Regions from separate parts of the Homo sapiens genome. Here all the other regions are linked to region 1. Evidence: promoter capture Hi-C in human tissues and cell types (Jung and others, 2019). All regions are on one chromosome and are shown on one strand. Each heading gives the region's core, a stretch centred on a gene start or on the middle of the fragment in contact. The rest is flanking DNA. Distances are from core to core; before and after follow the strand shown.

Region 1 (5,630 bases), core at 2,668-5,167:
ACAAGGGCCAGGTGCAGTGGGTCGCGTCTGTAATCCCAGCACTTTGGGAGGCAGAGGTGGGCGGACCACTAGAGGTCAGGAGTTCGAGACCAGCCTGGCCAAAATAGCAAAATCCTGTCTCTACTAAAAATACAAAAACTAGCTGGGCATGGTGGTGCATACCTGTGGTCCCAGCTACTCAGGAGGCTGAGGCAGGAGAATCGCTTGAACCCAGGAGGTGGAGGTTGCAGTGACCCGAGATCACACCACTGCATTCCTGCCTGGGCAACAGAACAAGACTGTCCCCCAACCCACCCACCAAAAAATATCTCAAACAAGCTGGAGAGCATGTTCCCAGACTGGCCATTGTGTGCCCAGCATGCTGAGTCTGGTCCTGTAGCATCCTCTGGGGGAGGGGATGATGCCAGCTGCCTGTTGTCTCCACCCTGGAAGAATGCCAGGGCACACTCAATCCCCAAGTCAGCTCACATCACCAGAGAACTTGAATGAGACCTGGGAACTTCACCTTGCCCTGAGATCCAGGTCAGTACTCCCTCCTCTGTGGTCTTGCCACCAGTCATATATGGGCCAGGCTATTATAGAACCCAGCTCAGTGCAATGGACTTTTCAGCTCAGAACTGCATCCCTCTTTGTAGACTAGTACTCACCACCAGGACTTTCTGGGATTTTCAGGCATAACCCTGAAATTCAGGTTGGAGTTGCTCTCTCCAAATCTATTGACACAAGGGGCTTATATCCTTCCCAATTTTTGCACAAAATTCCCTGAGATAGCCTCCACTCTGGGAACTCAGTCTAAGTCATGGTCTATTGTTCTGCCTCAAGGTCTCCAACTGGTTGTTCTTTCTGAAATGCTCTCTCTCCATCTTTTCATGGCTGACTGCTTCTTACCATTTAGGTCTCAGTTTAAATTTTCCCTCCTTTACAGATAGGCTCTCCCTGGCTTGCCTAATAAAGATCAACCCTTCTTTGTTTTCTTTCTCCCTTACCATTTTCAGTGGTGACTATCCAGTATCTGGTGGGTTGGTACTGCCCTTACACAGGACAGCCTTTGTCCATAGCTCACGATGGAAACCAGAAAAATCACAGGATCTGAAAGGAATGGGTCCTCAGGTATTATGGGAAAGGGGACCTTAGAGGTCATTTAATCTAAGTCTTGAGCTGCTAGGACTGTCATATTCCGGTGGGGTTTTTTTTCTTTGTTTTGTTTGTTCACAATGGCTATGGAGAGCTGGTGAGCAAAGGTGACTGTTGTGTCCCACTGAAATGCTTCTGGGCTGTCCAAGATAGATCATGATGTTAAGTAGAATCAGCTCTGGGGTCAATTATTAGGTGAGTGCAAAAGTAACTGTGATTTTTGCACTGTCGGACTTTGCTGTTTGATATTAAATACATTCTTAAATAAATGTGGTTATGTTATACATCATTTTAATGGGCATTTCTCACTTTATGTATTTTTGCTAAAGACATCACTTGTTCTTTGTTGTATGTTTATTTTAGACTATGGAAATGTTGGACAAAAAGCAAATTCAAGTGATTTTCTTATTCGAGTTCAAAATGAGTTATAAAGCAGCAGAGACAATTTGCAACATCGACAATGCATTTGGCCCTGGAACTGCTAACGAATGTACAGGGCAGTGGTGGTTCAAGAAGTTTTGCAAAGGAGATGAGAGCCTGGAAGATGAGGAGCTGGCCACTGGAAGTTGACAACGACCAGTTGAGAACAATCATCGAAGCTGATCCTCTTTCAACTACACTAGAAATTGCCGAAGAACTCAACGTCGATCATTCTACAGTTGTTCAGCATTTGAAGCAAATTGGAAATGTGAAAAAGCTCATTTAGTGGTTGCTTCATGAGCTGAGTGAAAATTTAAAAAACGGTCTTTTTGAAATGTTGTCTTATCTTATTCTACACAACAACAAGGAAGAATTTCTCAATTGAGTTGTGATGTACAATGAAAAGTGGATTTTATATGATAACTGGCAATGACCAGCTCAGTGGCTGGTCTGAGAAGAAGCTCCAAAGCACTTCCCAAAGCCAAACTTGCACCGAAAAAAGGTCATGGTCACTGTTTGGTGGTCTCTGCTGGTCTGATCCACTACATCTTTCTGAATCCCGGTGAAACCATTATATCTGAGAAGTATGCTCAGCAAATCAATGAGTTGCACCGAATAGTACAACACCTGCAGCTGGCATTAATCAACAGAAAAAGCCCAATTGTCCATGACAGCACCTAACCACATGTCACACAACCAATGCTTCAAAAGTTGGAATAAATTGGGCTACGAACTTTTGCCTCATCTGCCATATTCACCTGACCTCTCATCAACCGACTACCACTTCTTCAATCATCTTAACAACTTTTTGCAGGGAAAATCCTTCCACAACCAGCAGGATGCAGAAAATGCTTTCCAAGAGTTCATCGAATCTTGAAGCATGAATGTGTATGCTACAGGAATAAACAAACTTATTTTTCATTGGCAAAAATGTCTTCATTGCAATGGTTCCTATTTTGATTAATAAAGATGTGTTTGAGGCTGGGCGCGGTGGCTCATGCCTGTAATCCCAGCACTTTGGGAGGCTGAGGCAGGTGGATCATGAGGTCAGGAGATCGAGACCATCCTGGCCAACATGGTGAAACCCTGTCTCTACTAAAAATACAAAAATTTGCCAGGTGTGGTGGCGTGCACCTGTAGTCCCAGCTACTCAGGAGGCTGAGGCAGGAGAATTGCTTGAACCTGGGAGGCAGAGGTTGTAGTGAGCTGAGATCCTGCCACTGCACTCCAGCCTGGGCGACAGAGTGAGTCTCCATCTCAGAAAAAAAAAATGTGTTTGAGCCTAGTTATAATGATTTAAAATTCATGGTCCGACACCGCAATTACTTTTGCACCAACCTAATTGATGTCTAAGTAGGTCATATTCTACCTGCAAAAAGAAAATTTCATCTATCCCTTTCACATAGATGGAAACCCACTATCTCCAGTGGACAGTTAACACCAAAGGCATCACAGAGAACTCATGGAGCTCAGCTGAGGAGGTTTCAGGGATTTTTCTATTTCCTTTTCTTGATTATGAGAGTCTGGGACTAGATGCTCTCCAGACCTGTGCCTAAAGACTCTTCAACCCTTTGAGATGGAGATGAGGGAGGGAATAGGGAACCCAGTTTAGTTTGGATTTCAGATCCTTTTGTGGGTCATAAGCGTGATGATTGGGTTTCCATGTTCACGTGTGAGATATGCCTCCCTCAAACCTTGTTACAATGACATGGGCACCTTACCTATCTGACATGAGAAAAACAAATGTGGATTTCAGATAAACAAAAAATAACTCTTTTAGTGTATATGTCCCATAGAATATGTGGACATATTTATCCTAAAAATATTGTATGGGACATAGTTGTATTAAGAAACTGTTCATTGTTTATCTGAAGTTCAAATTTAACTGGGCATCCTCCTCAGCTGAGCTCCATGAGTTCTCTGTGATGCCTTTGGTGTTAACTGTCCACTGGAGATAGTGGGTTTCCATCTATGTGAAAGGGATAGATGAAATTTTCTTTTTGCAGGTAGAATATGACCTACTTAGACATCAATTAGGTTGGTGCAAAAGTAATTGTGGTGTCGGACCATGAATTTTAAATCATTATAACTAGGCTCATGTCATATTTTATGTGACATGGCAATCCTATGGAGGAGGGACCAACATTTAAAATAAATGGCTTCCCTAGGATAGAGCACTGGGACTGGGGAAAACAGAGGCCACAGTCAGCTGTGACTTTTTGAAGGAAGGAATAAAGTTGGTTTCTTTCATGCCAATTTAGCAATTACAGACGACCCCGTCAGAAATCTAAACCCGTGACTATCATGGGACTCAAAACCAGGAAAAAAAATAAGTCAAAACGATTAAGAGCCAGAGAAGCAGTCTTCATACACGCGGCCAGCCAGCAGACAGAGGACTCTCATTAAGGAAGGTAAGAGCGTTGCCTTCTCGCCATAATCATAGTCCTCTTCTCCCAGAATAGGATTTGGGAAATTCTGGCTAAGTCCTCTGCCTACCCTCATTGCCCCGCTGATGTGTGACATCAACAGAATTTCTCCGCAACGTTTGTCAGTCTCCAACCTCAGAGGGCTCACAAAGCCTCCTCCTGAATCCTCTCTCAGTCCTCCAACACTACCAAGAAGAAAAGCAATTATTCAGGATGGCATCTTGCTGGGGAGAAGCAGCCTCCCTGAGGTAGATGTGTTCTCCTGTCACTTAAAGAACCACTTCTCCTGGTCTGAGTAGTAAGAGGCGCATTTGCTGTTGCTGCACCATTTGCCAAGGCTCTGAGTTTGAGGTATGGGATGTATTAAAACAATTTAATGAAGAATTAAGATTCCATTCTGTCATTTTGAACACAGGGTTCAGTCCTATATTATTCACTTGAGAGGACTGGTGAGTTTGACTTTCATTTCTTTTTTACAACTGGGAAGGGCAAATTACACATAAAATGTCCCAGTGGAAAGGGGTCATGTGTCGAAATCCCCACTCTTCTGTCTCACCTCTCCCTGTTGTTTTAAACTGGGGCTCATTAATATAATTCTATGGGGATCACACCTTTGAAATTCATGAGGACAGTAAGAGAGCAGAAAAATACACAATAATAAGGAAAGGAGCTTCCATTATTGGTTTTTAATGAGCGTACTTGAATTACGGCCACTGCAGTTTATGGATATTTTTTGTTGTTCATTTGTATGTGTTATAGTTAGAAAAAAAAAGAATCCTAGCCAAGGGACTTGAACCAGAGAGAAGCAGAAATTGACTTAAGTAGGAAGGGAAACACATTGTTAGATAAAGTCAGGTCCTGGGCTTCCTCGGCTTGTTTTGGGTGGAGTGCCTGGGGACAGGCTGAAGCCCCTGTGTGGGGTGGTTTCCTTTGCTGAAAAGCTGGGCTGGAAGATGTTGTGCTCAGTGCTCAACCTCATGCACCCTCGCGAGGCACAGGCAACGGGTGCTCTGGGAAACACACGTTATGTATCATAGCCTCTGTTTGTCTGTGGGATTGATATCCAACAATAACTTTGGAGAAAAATAACTCCTCTAATTTTGTTAGCCACAGCCCTGGGCCAGGGAAGGTGGAGAATCAGTGAAAATGCATTTTGTTTGTTTCTCTAGAAGTTTATGGTGCAGAGTCAAATTGAAGGCAAATGAGGAATATTTTTTCACCAAATAATAACTCAACTTGCAAGTCTTTTTTGCTTTTGTTTGTAGTTTCTTCTTTGAACTTAATTTTCAGTTAGTAGGAGGGGTTAGAAACCTGAGCTATTGCTAAAGCCCTTGATATGAATGAAAGAAGCAGGTGCAAATCCCCTCACAGAGAGAAACCAAAGGGTCCTGGCTATGGATATTGGTCACCTAGTGAGGATGCTGTTGTGGGTCTTTATGAGATGATGAATAGGGTGGCTTTGGATGCATTAATGATGCCCACATGCTCCTTCTGTTAGGTGTCCTGTGCCCTGACCCTACAAGATGCCAAGAGAAGATGCTCACTTCATCTATGGTTACCCCAAGAAGGGGCACGGCCACTCTTACACCACGGCTGAAGAGTAAGTTCAAAACCAGACCCAGCAGGGCTTCCAGTTTGCCGTTTGCTGAC
Region 2 (5,731 bases), core at 2,306-4,805, 68 kb after region 1:
TTTATAATTTGTTTTTTGTATTACTTTTTAATCATATCGCAGAACTGTAATTTATAAAATTTCTAACTTTTGGCTCAATGAAATCCATGTATACTATGACTGAACTGCAAATTTTGAGTTGCTGAGGTTCACAGGGGTTTAACTGTCTTATTTTAATAAGTATTGACGGGTATCATTTGACATCTGCTTTCAATTAAATTAAAATAACCCAACATATATTTCTTTATTCACCATTGTTATTTACTTCTGTGCTTACACAGTACCTTATAACAGAAGTATACTCCTACAAAGATAGGTAAGTGGGTGGGCTGCTTAAATAAGCAATACTCAGGGAGAAGTGATTAAATTCTTGATATCTCTATAATACAGCTAGTAATTGATTCCTAAACTGAGTGCCATAAGTATTGCTGAAGGGGGCTCATGAATTTGAATGCCAAGATGCCTTTCCTCTATACACTGCCTTTACCATTTTTTAAAGTTCACAAGAAAAAACTGAATGATCTTGCTGACTTATGTATGGGAAGGTTTTATAAAAACAGTAATTTGGAGGAAATAAAATTCTTCCTCAACCTCTCCCCACCAGCCCTACTCTGATTAGCTTAAAAAAAAAGCGCCATTTGATTTTGTATTCATTTATAAGCACAACAGAGGTCACCCTTGATAGTCCCATGAATTTCATCTTATTGTTACACAGGCACTAAACACAGGTACTAAATTCTCAGTTAACTCTAGCAGCTACTCTATTTGAATGGACTGAGAAGCTAAGGTGGTTACTTGGTATTTCAGTTCACCACGTCATTAGGATGCTTAAATGTTATTAGGAAATTGGAGGTAATGTTACATATTGGTTATAAGCTTGAGTTTTAGAACTAAACTACCTGGGTTTGAGTGCCTGCTACAACCACCTACTATTATAGAGGTCATGTATAACAGCTATCACATACAAGACCTTGAGCAAACTGCTTTATTTCTTTGTGCAGTTTCTTCATCTGTAAAACAAGGGATAATAGTATTACCTACTCTGTGAGAATTAAATGGGTTATAACACCCCAAAAGCTTATACTACTGCTAGGCACATGGTAGGTGATCAATAAATGTTAGCTATTGCTTTAGCTTTAGCTAAGCTATGGTGAGAAAAGCCTAAACAGAAAATCTTTTAATTTTCTTTAAATTCTTTTTACTTACTCCATCTCAGTTCTTCTTATGCATGTCCTCTAAACTACCACTCTACTTTGTACACAAATCAATGAATGTAATACTTAACTTAGAGTACTGTAATTGTCTGTTCTTATGTTTGTCATCCTTACTATACTGTAAATTATTGGTGACAGAAATCACATTATTCACTCTGTATTTACAGCATTTAGCACACATAAGTTCTAAGAAGTGATCCCTAAATACAAGAATCCTACTTTTTTCAGAAATGTCACCAACAGTCTAGGGGGTAGGAAAAGGGATGCAGGTAACTGTTTACAATTCTGAGGGTCCATTTAAGTCTACTTTATAGTGAAGAAAACACTGACAACGATTTTAAATAATTTAAACAATTCACCAAAGAGTTTCAACATGACCTAGTAGTGGTAGTAAGAAGATTAACATTTATTGAGAACCTGCTGTGTGTCAGATACTTAGTAAAGTGGTCTGTATAAATTAACTTATTTATTTCTCAATATAACCCTCCCAGGTAGGTAATAACTCTACTGTAATACTGGATAACTGAAGATCAAAAAGATTAATTAACTCACTCATGTGTCACACAGTAAGTAAGCACCACAGTCAGGGATTCTAACTACAAAGTCTAAGCTCCTTCCATTATGTAATTCTACTGCACAAATATCTTAAGTTACCATTTATTGATTCCTACCATGTGCCAAGCTCCAAGTGACATACTGCGCATTTGTTATTCTAATTAATCTTAACAATACAGCCAAGTAGGTATTACCTCACTTATCACAGATAAAGAAACAGGCTATAAACAGGTAAAGAAACTGATGGAGGAGCTGTAGCTAATATGCACTAGGAGCATACATGTGAAATTAGGTCTGTCTCACTTCAAAGCTGTACTCTTTTTATGGTAAAATACTGCATTCTTTCAAATTTTTGAAAGGGATGTAATCTGCTTCTGTTTGGTTCAGAGCATTCCTTTTTATTAGGGTTGGATGATTTGTACATTTACTATTTTTTAATACCTTCAGTATATATCCTGAAAAAAACAATTTCAGTATAAATTTTCCTGTATTCTTCAGTAAAAACATCAGCACTTCAAAAAAATTAAATATTATTTTAAAAATCGAGCATGAGATACTACAAAATCATGCCTTTATTTGGTAACCTGTTTTTGCTTCAGGACAAAATATATACAGGGCAAGTTACATACTACCAGTGGGCTTCCCTTCCCTTATCACTCAACTTGATCATATCCCAGGCCTTTTACTTCCACTGCCCTAAGTTACTTGGTCATATAAAATAGAATAAAATTCTCAAACCTATAATTATGCTGAAATCAGAAGTCAAATTAAAACATACACAGAATTTCAATACCACTCTTGAGCCTAAAACAGAAAGTGTCAGCCTGTACCTGGAAAATGCATAAGGAAACATTAATAAACCTTAATAATAAACCTTAGTAATTAATGTTACAAAAGTATACCCTAATGAAGCTTTCTAAAACACTATGCTTAGAACAACTTAAGAAAAGAATGCCCAACCTGAGAGGGAAAATTATAACTAAAGATATATTTTATACTGTAACTGAGGAATAAAACTCTAGTTTTCTAGAATCTGGAAATATGCCTTTTATAAAAGAAATGGCATATTTCTTTACATAAGAAGGTGATTATCATCCCCCTTTCAGTTCCCCTTTCTCAGTTTCTTATTCCTCATTCTTTACCCTTCTCCTTCACCTGGTTTTCCTGTCTTCACTCCTCAGACCTCTGGGCTACTCATACTCAGACTTCCACTTTAAGCCAAGTGTGGTGGTGCATGCCTGTGATCCCAGCTCGCCTGTGGTCCCAGCTACTTGGGAGGCGGAGGTGAGAGGATGGCTTGCGCCCCGGAGTTCGAGGCCAGGTGGGCAACATAGCGAGATCCTGTCTCTCAGGGAGGGATAGGAGGAAGAAAAAGAACAGAAAAAAAAAGGTACTTCAATGCTTTCCTAGATTTAGCCTTTCCATGTTTTAAAATTATCCCAACACATTCACTCCTCCCTCTGTACTTTCGCCTTAGGAACCTTAATAAATAAATGAATACTAAGATATTAATCATTGTTGCAAGTAAAAACTCAAGGGTATTTGTATTATTAAACAGTGAATTTGCAAAGTGCCTGGGATGTAAAGTCACAGAACTAGAGCCTAAACTTGTCTTTTATTTACTAAATGTGCATGTCTTGAGCTAACTATATTCTAGGAGTTTCTGGAGTGTTCTATCTCAAGTAAGCAATTTGACCTTAACAAAACAGTTTATTTTCCTTTTATTCTTCTTACCTATAAGCAAATTTCTTATCATACTGGTAATTCTTTAACGCTATCACATAATTCAGTAACTCCTGAACACCCATTTCTTTTTACCCTTTAACTTAGAATATTGAATCAGTTGCCAAATTCTGCTACTTATTGCAGCATCTCTCTCAAAATAGAATTTTCTTCTATCATTGTGATAGAAAAGTCACATAATCAATCCTTACCTGGATTTAGAATTGTCTCGTTATAGTTATCATCTACCCCTTCATCTTACCCCTGCCAGCTTCTTTTCATAGCTCTTTAATGGTATCCTAATTATCTTGCAAGATCCTTTCTCCTAATCCTGTCACTTACTAGCTCTAGCTGTGTGACTTTGGACAAATAAATCTCCATCTCAATTTTTAAAAACCTCTAAAATCTGTAATAATGGGGAATAATAGTAATATTTATTTTTTGAAGTCTTCATGAAGATTAAATGAGATAGCATGTATAAAGGCTTAGAACAGTGCCTGGCATACAATAAGCACTCAATGAGTACTCGGTTTTTTAGACAAAAAGTAGAAGGATTGAAAAAATAAAAGGACATGGAGTATAGTAAATCCTTTCACTCTCTTTATATTTTGAAATCTTCAGCTGGTATGCTAAAAGTTTTCTCCGTAAGACACATGTAGTTAGGGTCTCTAGTGCTATCACTACAGAACTATATAATAACCTTTTCACAGATACGGGCCTGGAAATAATCAAACACTGTAGATTACATTACCTTCTCAGTCATTTCCTATAAAGCAGCTCATTACTTTTTACACATCTGATATATCTTATTTCAAGCTCAATTCCTTGCAATGGAATCTTGATTCAATTATTTAACATAGTACCACATGCTTAGAAAGATCACCCAAAAATGACACCCTTCTATCATTCGAACAGCTTCTAAAACCTCAACTTTTCCACAAAAGTTTTCTTTAATTGTGCTTCTTCCAGTGACACCTCACTTAATTATACCTCTATGCTTTTGCTCGTGTTATTCAACATTTTCCACCTATCCAATTCCCATTATTCTTCAAAGTCCTTCATCCCTTGTAAAACCTTCCCAGACTAGCACAGCACATTGATTTTTTCTCTACTTGACCTTTTATTGTGTTGTCTTTATCTGTACTTAACTATTATTCACTTGAGGTCACTGACCACTTTTTAACTTAGTTTTTTCACCTATAAGAGAATAAGACCACTTGTCTTATTCATTTTAGTCAGTTTAGAGGTGCTACCATAAAGTGATTTGGGTGAAAATAATAACTACTGGCCGGGCGTGCTGCCTCACGCCTGTAATCCCAGCACTTTGGGAGGCCGAGGTGGGCCGATCACCTGAGGTCAGGAGTTCGAGACCAGCCTGGCCAACATGGTGAAATCTCATCTCTACTAAAAATACAAAAATTAGCCGGACATGGTGGCACATGCCTGTAGTCCCAGCTACTTGGGAGGCTGAGGCAGGAGAATTGCTTGAACCCAGGAGGTGGAGGTTGCAGTGAGCAGAGAATGCGCCAATGCACTCCAGCCTGGGCAACAAGAGTGAGACTCTGTCTCAAAAAAAAAAAAAAAGAAAAGAAAAGACAATAATGACTATTTGAGGGGGGAAAACTTTCCAAACAGAACTGGTTGAAAGTATCTTAAAACACCATAAGCTTTTTGTAACTGTTAATGCGTCTGTAATCTTTTTTGTGTTTTTTCAGATTTTATAAAAAGTCCCCTAATTTTTAGAATTTCTAATTCATTTTCGCCAACTCTACTTGCTCTACACAATCTATAATAGTATATTATTGAAAACAACCAAAATGTCCAATAAGGAGACTGGTTAAATTAACTGCAAAATACAACAGGATCCTACACAGCCATTTAAAATGATGCTACAGGGACCTATTTATTGCCCAAAGATGTTCATGGTATACTGATACGCAGGGGAAAAAAAGCAGATTGTTAAAATGGTATGTATAGTATAATCCTATTCAAAAATACATAGTCTTTGAAAAAGTGTTGAAAGATACATATTAAGGAGTTAGTTTTAGTTACATCTAGGTGAACCATATTAAATGTGTTCATTTATTTGTTCAGTATATTCCCACACAATGCATCAATCAATCTGCTAAAGTGCCAGGGATGCAAAACCAGAAATAATCCTTCTGTCCCTAAGAATGTTATAGAATAGAGAGGAGACAATCCTCAAAATAACCTAGAAGTAAACGCAACTATAATAAGTATTACGAAGGAGAAGTGTCTGG
Region 3 (6,103 bases), core at 2,410-4,909, 120 kb after region 1:
ACATCAAGTATACTGCTTGGCTAGCATCAATAATAGTTCAAACAAATAGCAACAATTTATATACTTTACATCAACTAGGGGAAAGGTGACAAACATTGTTTAAGACAGTTTGAAGCACAGGTTATCACCAAGGTCTGTGTTTGGAAGATAAAACATGCGAGATAAACAGAGGACTAACACTGATTAATTCTGGAGAAACATGGAGAAGAACTATAAACTGCTTAGCAGGGAGAAAACAGTTCTCTGATTTATAATAAAATCTATTCACAACACTTATTTGTAGTTACTTTTATAATAGATAATATTCAAGTTATATTAAAGTGCTTCAAGCAAAATTTAGCAACTCCTGTAAGGCTTCCTGCTGTTCATCATCAAGTTGTGATACACATTCCAACCATAAATCTTCAGAAGTCTGTACCTGACGCACGACATTAGCTAGGCGTTTGGCACAAGGATCCTCATAGTTAATAGTCTCATTAATTTTTCCTTCTGCAATTATACTGATTATTTTGGGAAGATTGGAATTATTTGGACCAATTACAACTGGGTGGTTACTTTCAATTAGGTCACAGAGAAAACTCAAAGTCTGAATAGCTTCCTCTTTATCTTCATGCAGTGGAAGCCATGATAACCAGTGTGGAAGAACTTCATCTACATTTACACAGTTAGGCTTAAACTTCAAAATCTTCCCTATTGCTGAGATACAGTTCTCTGTAGCAATGACATTTTTTTTGGTTTTGGAATTTGCACACTTAATAACTTTTACCAGAAGTGGAACAGCTTCTGAACATAAAGAACGATAATCATCTCCACCAAACTGTGCCATGACACCCAGGCCATAAGCAGCAGCTTGCCTGACTTCAGGGTTGTTATCTCGCATATTTAGTAGCATTGGCCACCGAAAATATTCTACATATTTAAATGAAGTTGGACTGCAGTGCTCTATGATGTCATCAAATATGCACAATCCCCACTGTCTGTCTGGCCATGGCCTACTTGAACAAATTAGATTTACAATTAATGGAAGTAGTTGTTCAAACCATGGTAAAATCTTTTCCTTATAAGTACTAAATAATGAGTGCAAAATATCTGATACTTTGGTCAGAATATAAACATCACATTCATCCTCATCTTGCAGAGACATCTCAACCTGTTGATCATAGTTTTCTTCCTGTCTTTTCACCTGTCTCAATTCTTGGTTTTTAAAGTGCCCTTCAAGTTTTGCTTTCAGTATTCCTCCCAGTTCTTCCAAGTGTTCATCATTAAGGCAACCATCTCCCATAACTTCAATGGACTTTGCAAAAGAATTCATTATTTCTGAGAGCACATCTGTATCTGGTTCAGTACCAATAGCCTTGATTAAGGGGTCACATATGAATTGCCACATCTGTGCAAGATACTCTGGGCCACGAATTCTTGCACATTCCAGGAGAAAAGGCATGGACTCTGCTGCTGCCACTCGAACATTGTCATGGAAATAAAATTTCAGTAAAGGAACCATCAGCTTCACAACTTGTTCTGTATATTCCACAAACCCTTCCCTTAACTCCTTAGCATAGTAAACCAACATTTGGCAAGCAGTTGCTTTTGCTTCAAGTCCTGAAGTTTTAATTCCAAAACTCTGCTGGTCTCCAAGATTTACAAATTGCCAGCCATCATCGTCACTCATATTTTCCACATCCTGTGTGTCTAAGAGAGCAACATCAGGTTTAGCTGAAGCAGTCTTAATAAGAGGCTCGATAACCAGTGGAAGGTACTGTTGAAAATCTTTTCCAAGAATTTTACACATTCTAGCCCATGCTGAAACCATGTAAGAGGTCTGAGGGTCATCATCTTCCATATTATTTAAGTCTGATTGTGTCTTCAACAACAGCTGCATCACATTTGATGCATCTTGCATAAATTTTTCCTTCCCAACAGCAAGACCAATATGGCTAATGCACTCGATAGTTTTTCCTCTCAGAAGCTTGAGTTCCTTCTGAACAGCAAGCTCAACAATGTGCTTTAGTGAGGGCATGAATATATCATAATATGGGACAAATTTTTCTTCTATTGTATCTGCAACTGATGCAATGGTTGTCACAAGTTGTTCCAAAGCCAACTTAGTTCCATTCCGAATCAACTCTTGAAGTTTAATCACCAAGACGGAATGTAGATTTTTCACCATACTATCCACATATAGAACTAGCAATGATTTAGGGCAGTCTTCAATAAAAATAATAAGAGCAGAAGCTGCATGTGATTGCACACGCTGATTACCTTGATTTTCCATGGTACGTAACAGAGCTGCAATCACTGTTTCATGAAATTTCTTTTGGAAATTAGGTGCAAAATCTGTAGCCATCTGTCCAAGTGTAGTACAGGCTGCAGCCCTCACCCTTGGATGAGGATCCTGAAGAAAAAGCAAAACGGAGTTAACTGTTTCATCTAGAATTGATTCCATTTGTTGATGGCATCCTTCTCCAATGGCAGATAAGGCCATTAATCCAGCATGTCGATACTTCCAGTCAGGGCTCTGAAGCATCTGCATGATATGCTCCTTGGTCATTGGTAAAACAACTTTTCCACCAAGCCCACAAGCCAGTCTGTCTAGTGCACTCTCCGCAGCAACTGCATTGCTGTCAAAATCATCTTCTTCCATTTCATCAGCATTTACCCAGTCCTCATCATCTTGTAGATCAACCATCATTGCTAATATATGAGGAACTGCCTGTGCAATAATATTTGTATGTTTTTTCAACATCGGAGTGGCAGTTTCAGACAAGGTCACTATAACTTCGAGGGCCAGCTGGCGCTGCAGATTACTAAGCCTAGAGTCTCCACATAACTTCAAACTCAACTGTAGAGTATCTTCTAAATAAGGACCCAAGTACTTAGGTACGGTATCTGCAATCTCAACAAGGGATTCTAGCACTGAATCATCATCCTGGTAGCATGAGTCATTCACAGCCTGTAAGATTCCAGGAAGCAAGTCTGCAAAGTCTTTGAAAAGAGCAATATTATTCTCATTAGCAAGTACAAATGCAGCTGCAGCTCTAGCGGATAATGTCCTGATTGCTGGATGTTCTTGATCTTGAATACACTGGTCCAACAACCGTTTGATGATATCCAAATCATGCCGCTCTTGGGTCCCAAAAATCCCAGGAAAGTGCCAGAAAACGTGAAGTGCAACTTCCCATAGAACCACATTTTTGGAGTAGATTGAATCAATAAGAAACTTCAGACCTTCCGGCCAGTGGTTAGTGCCATCCTCATCTATCAAATTCCTGGCCAGCACTGCAAAAATATCACAAAGTTTTTTCCTCATGCTAGCATGTGTTTCTAACTTAACAGCCAGAATCAGTTCAATCTTGACATCTCTCTGAACATCAGCAGGCAGATTTGGATAAACCTCCTCAAACCCAGAGGACAAAAGCCGTCGTAGCAGTGCGGCAGCCATTTGTCTCACCTCATAACCTGCTCTTCTATTTCTGACGGCATCTAAGAGGAAGGTAGTCTTACACAGACCTGGGATATTTTCATAGATTTCCTCTGCTTGCCTCCGCACCATACAGCTTGGATTGATCAGGTTCTTCAGAAGCTGGTAAAACTCTTGCTTTTCTGACACGGTCGCCGGCACCCCTGCAGACGCGGTTGCCGCCATTGCGCTCTGTCAAAGCTACCGCGACCGGGAAGGAGGGAGGGGGTCTGCGGCTCGAAGCAGTGACGTAGGCGAGGCGCCGGCGGGGATGGGCGGGGTGCTTCTCCCTCCTCTGCCCAGAAACTCTAGCTGCGCTCTGGCAGGCTGCGAGCTAGGTTTTGGAGAGAGGTGAGAGCCGTGTGGAGGCCAATGGCATCCTCCATTTGTTTTTCAATAAGATAAACGTGCACTTGCAGGCGAGAGAAGAAAAGCATTGATTAGAATGGGATCATGACTTTTTTTTTTTTTGGATACAAGGTCTGGCTGTGTCACCTAGGCTGGAGTATAGCGGCGCGATCCCTGCTCACTGCAGCCTCAACCTCCTGGGCTCAAGCGATCCTCCCCGCCTCAGTTCCCCCAGTAGCTGGGACCACAGGCGCGCGCCACCACGCCCGGCTAATTGTGTTTTTTATAGAGACAGGGTTTCGCCATGTTGCCCAGGCTGGTCTCGAACTCCTGGGCTCAGGTGATCTGCCCGCCTCGGCCTCCCGAAGTACTGGGAATACAGGTGTGAGCCACTGCTTCTGGTCAGATTATGAGTGATTTTTTTCTTTTATTTCTAAACTATATTGTTACTTTGATAATTTTAAAACAATAAGTCTATCTTGAAAACATGCCAAGTGAAAGAAACCAGTCACAACCACATATTGTATGATTCCATTTGTATGAAAGGTACCAAACAGGCAAATTGTATAACAGAAATTAGTGGTTGCCAGAGGTTGGGGGGAGGGGAGGATAGAGAATGACTGCTATCAAATAGGGTGTTTCTTTCTGAGTGATGAAATGTTCTAAAATTAATTGTGATGGTTGCACAATTCTGTGATTATACTAAAAACCATTGAGTTGTTAAATTTAAATTGGTGAATTGTATGGCATATAAATAATACTACAATAAAGCTTTATAAAATAATAAGTGTGATAATAAAATAATAATTACTTCCCCACTACCACATCTAATGCAGTAGAGTGGTAGCTCAAAATCTGGTGTGTGTCAGAATCACCTGGCCTGTTGGTTATAATAAAGAATGGGAAAGACAACTGAGTAAAGTATGGTAGAAAGTGATCTGAACTAATAATCAGAAGACAGACTTGCATCCTGGCCTTGTCACTAAATTAATTTTGTATCCTAGGACAAGTTACTCAAGATTTTCCTTGCATCTTGTCTAAACTGAAATATGAAGGGATGCGGTTAACTAGAATCCTAACTAACCATTAGTGGGAAGCTGCTGAGGTTATTCCAAGAAACAAATGTTGATGAAACTAAATTTGTTTCTTTTTTTTTTTTTTTTTTTTGTGAGATGGAGTCTCGCTCTGTCGCCAGGCTGGAGTGCAGTGGTGCGATCTCAACTCACTGCAACCTCTGCCTCCTGGGTTCAAGCAATTCTCCTGCTTCAGCCTCCTGAGTAGCTGGGACTATGGGCGCATGCCACCACGCCCAGCTAATTTTTGTATTTTAGTAGAGACGGGGTTTCACTATGTTTGGTCAGGATGGTCTCGATCTGTTGACCTCGTGAGAGATCACCCGCCTCGGCCTCCCACAGTACTAGGATTACAGGTGTAAGCAACCGCGCCTGGCCAGTTTGTTTCTTTAATTCAGGCAGGTGTGTCAATCAAAAACAAGTTTCATTCCTATAACAATGATTAGGTCTTACTTTTGTATTAGCACTTGCCACACTCATTTTGACCCTTATACAGAATTGAGAGATTGCTAGGATAGATATAATACTAAATTTAGGTGAGAAGTGGAAACTAAGGGAAGTTACAGGATTTGCCTAGGATGACACACCTGAGTCTCAATTCTACCTCTTCTGAAAGTGACACTGATGCTCTTTTCACCATATTGCTTCCCCATTAACTACTCTTGGTTTTGCAGCATGATCAGAGGCTTCACTTACTGCAAATTCTGTCTTAAACTTTTCCAAGCAGCCTTAATTTTGTTTTTGTAAAGTGCTGCCGCATATACCCACAAAAATTAGAAAGTCGTAGCTTTTACATTAACCAGATGATAGACAAAGTAGGTAGTCTCATAAATTACATTGTAGCCGAGCATGGTGGCTCACACCTGTAATCCCAGCACTTTGGGAGGCTGAGGCAGGCAGATCACGAGATCAAGAGATCAAAACCATTCTGGCCAACACGGTGAAACCCCGTCTCTACTAAAAGTACCAAAATTAGCTGGGCGTGGTGGCACATGCTTGTAGTCCCAGCTACTCGGGAGGCTGAGGCAGGAGAATCGCTTGAACCTGGGAGGCAGAGGTTGCAGTGAGCCGAGATTGCATCACTGCACTCCAGCCTGGCGACACAGCAAGACTCTGTCTCATAAAAAAGACACTGTAATATGAAACAGAGCTATTTTCTAAAATAGAATTTCTCATTCTGTAGACTGAAAACCAACTGCATTAGAATTGCTTGGGATACCTATTT
Region 4 (5,585 bases), core at 392-2,891, 110 kb after region 1:
ATATATTCAAAATGTTTGCTGCTTGAGAAGCCAGATCATGAAAGTCTGGAGACCACTGCTCTTATCTGCAGCTATAAGCTACCTCACACACAAAAAGGTTTTCAGGAAAAGAAGTAGTCTTCATACCCACAAAAAAGCACTTATTAAAGACCATTAAACTTACTTTCTACTTGATTTTTACCTTCTATTTTCCCAGTCATTACCTTATTCCCCCTGAATTTCTTTTTCGTCTTCCTTCAGACCTCCAGTCCCTTGTCTGACTCTCATTTGCTGTAACATAATTCAACTTCTTTTAGCTATTCACATAGATAACCAGTTGAGACCCATAATACATGACTAACCTCTTCTCTTATCTCCCTGGACCAATTATATTTCTGTCTCAGGCATGTAGCCTCTCTCTTAAATCTCAGCCAAAGGCCCCTTCACTCCTATACTTCTCCTACTGAGCAGGGTAGAAAAAATAATCCCCTTATAATCTGTTGTCTAACTATAACCTCAGCTGGGCTCAACTGTACCTAATATGACTTCTTTGAAGGTGGTCAACTCCCTCTTTCATTCTCCATAACAGCAACTTCAAATGCTATCATTTTTCTTTTTTTTTTTTTTTGAGACAGAGTTTCGCTCTTGTTGCCCAGGCTGGAGTGCAATGGCACCATCTCGGCTCACTGCAACCTCCGCCTCCCTGGTTCAAGCAATTCTCCTGCCTCAGCCTCCTGAGTAGCTGGGATTACAGGCATATGCCACCACGCCCGGCTAATTTTCAGCATTTTCAATAGAGACGGGGTTTCTCCATGTTGGTCAGGCTGGTCTCGAACTCCTGACCTCAGTTGATCCACCCGCCTTGGCATCCCAAATTGCTGGGATTAGAGGCGTGAGCCACCATGCCGGCCCAAATGCTACCACTATTCAAAAGCTTCATTCCATCACTTTCTCGCAGGTGACTGCCCATAACTTATTTCAGAGAAAACGGCAGTTTTTAAGTAAGAGCTCCATTAACTTCCTGCTTCTCAAAAACCAAAATTATCTAAATCCAGGCCCATCCTTACTTTATGTTTCAGTGAAAAATGTGCCTCCAATCCTCTAATGAAAAATGAATCACTACACAGGTCTTCAGAATTTGTATTTCATTAATTATCTTCTGAGCCTTCAAACTCTCTTTCTCTGTCTGTTAGCTGCTTTAGCATATAAACAAGTCCAAGTTTCCCTGAGGAACATCTAAACTGCTGATCCAATTCATCTTTCATTCACATCTCAATCTATAATGTGGCATCTGCTTGGAGCTACTCCACTGAAATCCCTCTTCCCAGAGATCTCCCAGTTAGGAAATGCAAAGGGTATTTTTCAGTTCTTATTTTAGTCAACCTTTCTATACCCTATCTGGTCACCCTTTGTTAAGAACTTGAATTGGACTTTGCAGAAAGAACAGTTTTAGATAGATAGGAAAGAGTGGAGAGAGAATACTAAATAAAGACAAAAATATTCATTCATATTATTCAAATATATTCATCAAAATATTTACTGAGCCACAGGGATTTAGCAAAGAACACGCTAACAATTTGTACATATGGAATTAAAAGTATAAACATCAAAGATGACTGATACATTCAGGCTGAAACAATGATAACACCACTGACAAAAATGTGAAAAGTCAAAAAGAAAAACAGGAAAACTGGGAAGGAGATTTGGGCTAGAAATATACTCAGTTTTTAACATTTTGAGATAACAATTACACAACCAACTGGAAAAGTTCTATGGACAAAAATATGAAACTAAAACTAAAGGCGGGGGGTTCAAGATACTGATTTAGGAGCCCTTAGTGGTAAGTAAAGCCATTAAACAACAACAGTAAATAAATACATATATAAAAATAAATGTATTTATTCCTCTCCAGAGGAGAAGAATACAAACAAAACCTTCCAAAGCCATTATTCATTTCTGCAACAGCAACAGGTAAATGACATAACGCCCCAAAGAACAACTGAAGACCATGTAACTTGGTTTTTTTTTTTGTTGTTGTTGTTGTTTTTGAGACAACGTCTTACTCTGTCACCCAGGCTGGAGTGCAATGGCACAATCTCAGCTCACTGCAACCTTTGCCTCCTGGGTTCAAGCAATTCTTGTGCCTCAGTCTCCCAAGTAGCTAAGATTACAAGCATATGCCACTATGCCTGGCTAATTTTTGTATGTTTAGTAGAGTTGGGATTTCACAGGGTCTCTCACCACATTGGCCAGGCTGGTCTCAAACTCCCGACCTCAGGTGATCTGCCCACCTCTGCCTCCCAAAGTGCTGGGATTATAGGCATGAGCTACCATGCCCGAGCCATGTAACTAATTTTTAAAAAATCGTTTTGCTTAGAATATATTTATTCTGTTTTTCTGAATTTAGGAAAGGCACAAAGGCAAATGCAAAGTTTTTATTTACAGACAAACAGTATTTGAAAAGTGCCTTATCAACCTTGACAAGTGTGATAAGCATTTTTAGTAAGTTAGGGCTGCTCTGCTGAACATACTACTACTGCTACAGCTATTCCTACTTCTCAGGAGTTCTCAATGCAGGCAGAACAGAAGCTCTCTAGGTCACTAACTCTCATACTGTCTCAATATGCTAATGTTCCCTAGAAGATGCTAAAAATGTAATGAGTCTGCAAAGTACGCAGGTAAATACCTTGGCTTCCTGTCCCTGGCCAACTCTTCTATTTATCTCCTAAGCATTGATGAGGCTTTAAAGTAGCTGATTGTAAATTTAGGACACTTTCAGATTCAGACAATGGCACAAGGAAGAAAGGCAGGAAAGCTAGAGCAAGTCTTAGCGCCTGCCTACCTGAAATAACAGGTCTTAACAAAGAGATATAGGGACTTGGCAAGAGCTAAGGACATAATTAAAATGAGAAGAATGTAGCAAGTGGCTATTACAGTGTCTACAGAAAATAAGTAATGCTATCAACTTTTCATCTTTCACTTCATGAATGAGAAGAATACCACTCTTATTCCCCACAAACTAGTGATTTTTATTGTTTTCTTGCATATTTCTTATGCGAAGTGAACAAAACATGGGTGATGCAAATGTTGCTTCTGCTATACTTATTTAAAAGCCACATATCTAATGGAAAAATAAATACATGAAAAAATGGGTTTTTTTTTTGACAGAGGACTCACTCTACCAAATATATTAAAATAAATTCTAAAGTCACAGTAATAAAGTTTAATATCAGAAGATGAATAGTTAGATCAACAGCACACCAGAGAAAGTTAGATCCAAGTACACCAGAGACATATGATAAAGAAAAATAGATCCAAATACACCAATAATATATCATAAACATGGTAATTCAAAATAATGGAGAAAGTTGATGTTGCGACAACTGGCTGGGTATTTGAGAAAAAAATTAAGCTGGATTTCAACCTCACTTCTTCACCAAAACAAATTTCAGGCAGATCCATCCATCCATTCATTCATTCCTTCATTCAATATTAACTAAGCACTTATAGGTAGTGGGGTAGGTTTGGCAACAACACAGACAACATTCCTGTCTGCTCTGAGCTTACATGGATAGCAAAGAAGATACACAAAAAGTAAGCACACACAATACATAATAAATAAGTTCAAACTATAAGTTACATACTGTACGTTTTGTAAAGGACAGTCAAGAACACTTACTTAAGTGGTAACAATAGAAAGAAATAGGCAAGATTTAAAATATACTTTAGAAGTAGGAAGAATCAATGAAAAATGCTATTTTTTTGGCTAGAGCAATTTGGTGGATGGTCAAATCTCTAAGACTAAACTTAGTAAAAATAAACAAAAAAAAGAAAAGTTCTGTTTTGAACATGTTAAAGTTTGAGATGGCTACTGGACACTCAATTGGATAAAAGAAACTATTAACAGTAGGATTGGCCTCTTAACAGTAGGAGACCTGGAGACTGGTGAAAGAGGGAGATTTTCTCTTGTACTGTTCTATTATTGCCCCAGGATGTACACATTTTAATTAATAAACTATTACGAATATAAACACTAATCACTGGATTGCTAAAAAGTCTACATATATTAGTTACAATTCAACTATTTCCTTTAGATTTCCATAATATGTATACACATAACATTTTAATAATCTATATTGCAAATACTGTCAATCCTACCACCACAGGTATCTAAATGCTCCCTACTCCTTCAAATCTTTTATGATCCTTTTCTCTCCAGTCTGTCTCTCAGGAGAAAAGACTCCTTTCTCTCAATCCTTACAGCTTTTGTTCATAAGCAACCAAGCATGATGATTAAGTGCTATATAGCAAACTCAAACTTTGCATTTAATTTTTTTGGGTGTAAGTAAATAATACATGTGTACATATGAGATAAAAAAGGGTTTAAATTGTTAGTAAAAAATTAAGAGATTTCAGTTATCCTATAATTTATATACTCTTCTCATGAAACTTTTAAAATAAGTCTTGGATATGATTAAGAGCTTTGACTTAAATATTACTATCAATCAAATTTCCTAGCCTGGAATTAATAAGTAGTAGAAATCACTAGCGTACTAGAATTGTACGAAGGATTTAGATAAACTTAAGAATATAAATGGTTCTCATACTTGTCAGTAGTCTGTGGAATACCTTGAAATACTATCATATTTAATAGTTTTTAAATACCTTCTACTAGCAACGTTGTATTTTTTAAGGATTATGTTCTTATAAGTATTAAACTGTTACAAATATAAATTTGTGTCTATAAAAACTAAGCTGTCAAATTAAGCATATTGATATTGTCAATATGTTTATAATTTATTAATTATATTTGCCATAATTCTTTTTTTGGTTATTGGCAAAGTTGCTAAAAACAACTTGGTAGTAGACTAACTTAAACTGATAAAATTATGTATTTAACATATTTTTTTCCCTGAGAACAGAGAGAAGATTGAAATTATTCAAAGAAACAAAACAACTAAGTCTGACAAATTATTTGGAGATGTAAATCTAGCATATTATCTCAATTTGGCAAAATTTCTCTTATATCTAGCATTGCTCTAGGATTTCTGCTATATATAAAACTAATTTTTCCTGATACATTTATATATATATAATCACCAGACCTAAAAGAAACATAGTCAAACGCAATACTTTTAACTCGGAAGTCAAGAATAAGCAAAGCTGAAAATTAAAGGATGGGAAAAGATCAAATTGAGTCTAGTTTTCTCCTTCTCTAATTCATTTCATCTATGCATCCCTTGTAATTCCCTAGCTTAAAATCCTTCATACAACTCCCGAATATTAGCACAGCATATTAGGCCCTCTGTGATCTGGCTACATAATCTGGCCCTCACCGTCACACCTGTCACTACTTTTCTACATATAATTACACTCTAGCCAAACTAAACTACTGGCCATTCCCTAGCTACACACAGTAGCTCTTTTTGCCTTTGCACTTTTAGATATGGTGTTCTTATTGCCTGAATAACCTCTACACCAATTTAGTTTATCCACTTGTGTCTTTCTATATCCATCTTTGAATCTCCCTATAGTGCCTATCAAATAATAAGCATTGTAAATATATGCTAAAAATAATGAACTGAACTTGTCTTACCACATTAACC

What was found. Contacts are between HindIII fragments. The study calls those that stand out against the background at their distance.
Region 2: a fragment that was not itself captured here is called in contact with the fragment with the promoter of MLANA in region 1 in 3 of the 25 tissues and cell types used here (mesenchymal stem cells, mesendoderm cells and spleen).
Region 3: the fragment with the promoter of RANBP6 here is called in contact with the fragment with the promoter of MLANA in region 1 in 1 of the 25 tissues and cell types used here (adrenal gland).
Region 4: a fragment that was not itself captured here is called in contact with the fragment with the promoter of MLANA in region 1 in 7 of the 25 tissues and cell types used here (dorsolateral prefrontal cortex, lymphoblastoid cells, mesenchymal stem cells and 4 more).

Annotation. Positions count from the first base shown.
Region 1 is chr9:5,886,972-5,892,601 of GRCh38, forward strand. It overlaps MLANA (melan-A), which reads left to right and starts at 3,918. Exons shown (of 5, transcript NM_005511.2): 1 at 3,918-3,965; 2 at 5,479-5,580. The coding sequence starts at 5,504. It overlaps LOC124902341 (small nucleolar RNA U13), which reads left to right and starts at 3,179; the gene lies at 3,179-3,285. It also overlaps a transcript of BRD10 not described here. The HindIII fragment of the contact is 14,558 bases long and covers 1-5,630 here.
Region 2 is chr9:5,955,524-5,961,254 of GRCh38, forward strand. The region is part of intron 3 of BRD10 (bromodomain containing 10); the gene reads right to left. Among named protein-coding and RNA genes, the nearest start is that of MIR4665, 49 kb to the right of the region's middle. The HindIII fragment of the contact is 5,201 bases long and covers 956-5,731 here.
Region 3 is chr9:6,011,965-6,018,067 of GRCh38, forward strand. It overlaps RANBP6 (RAN binding protein 6), which reads right to left and starts at 3,660. Exons shown (of 1, transcript NM_012416.4): 1 at 1-3,660. The coding sequence starts at 3,643. The coding sequence ends at 326. RefSeq lists an enhancer at 3,479-3,538. The HindIII fragment of the contact is 3,814 bases long and covers 3,272-6,103 here.
Region 4 is chr9:5,994,310-5,999,894 of GRCh38, forward strand. The region is part of intron 1 of BRD10 (bromodomain containing 10); the gene reads right to left. Among named protein-coding and RNA genes, the nearest start is that of MIR4665, 11 kb to the right of the region's middle. The HindIII fragment of the contact is 6,479 bases long and covers 1-4,881 here.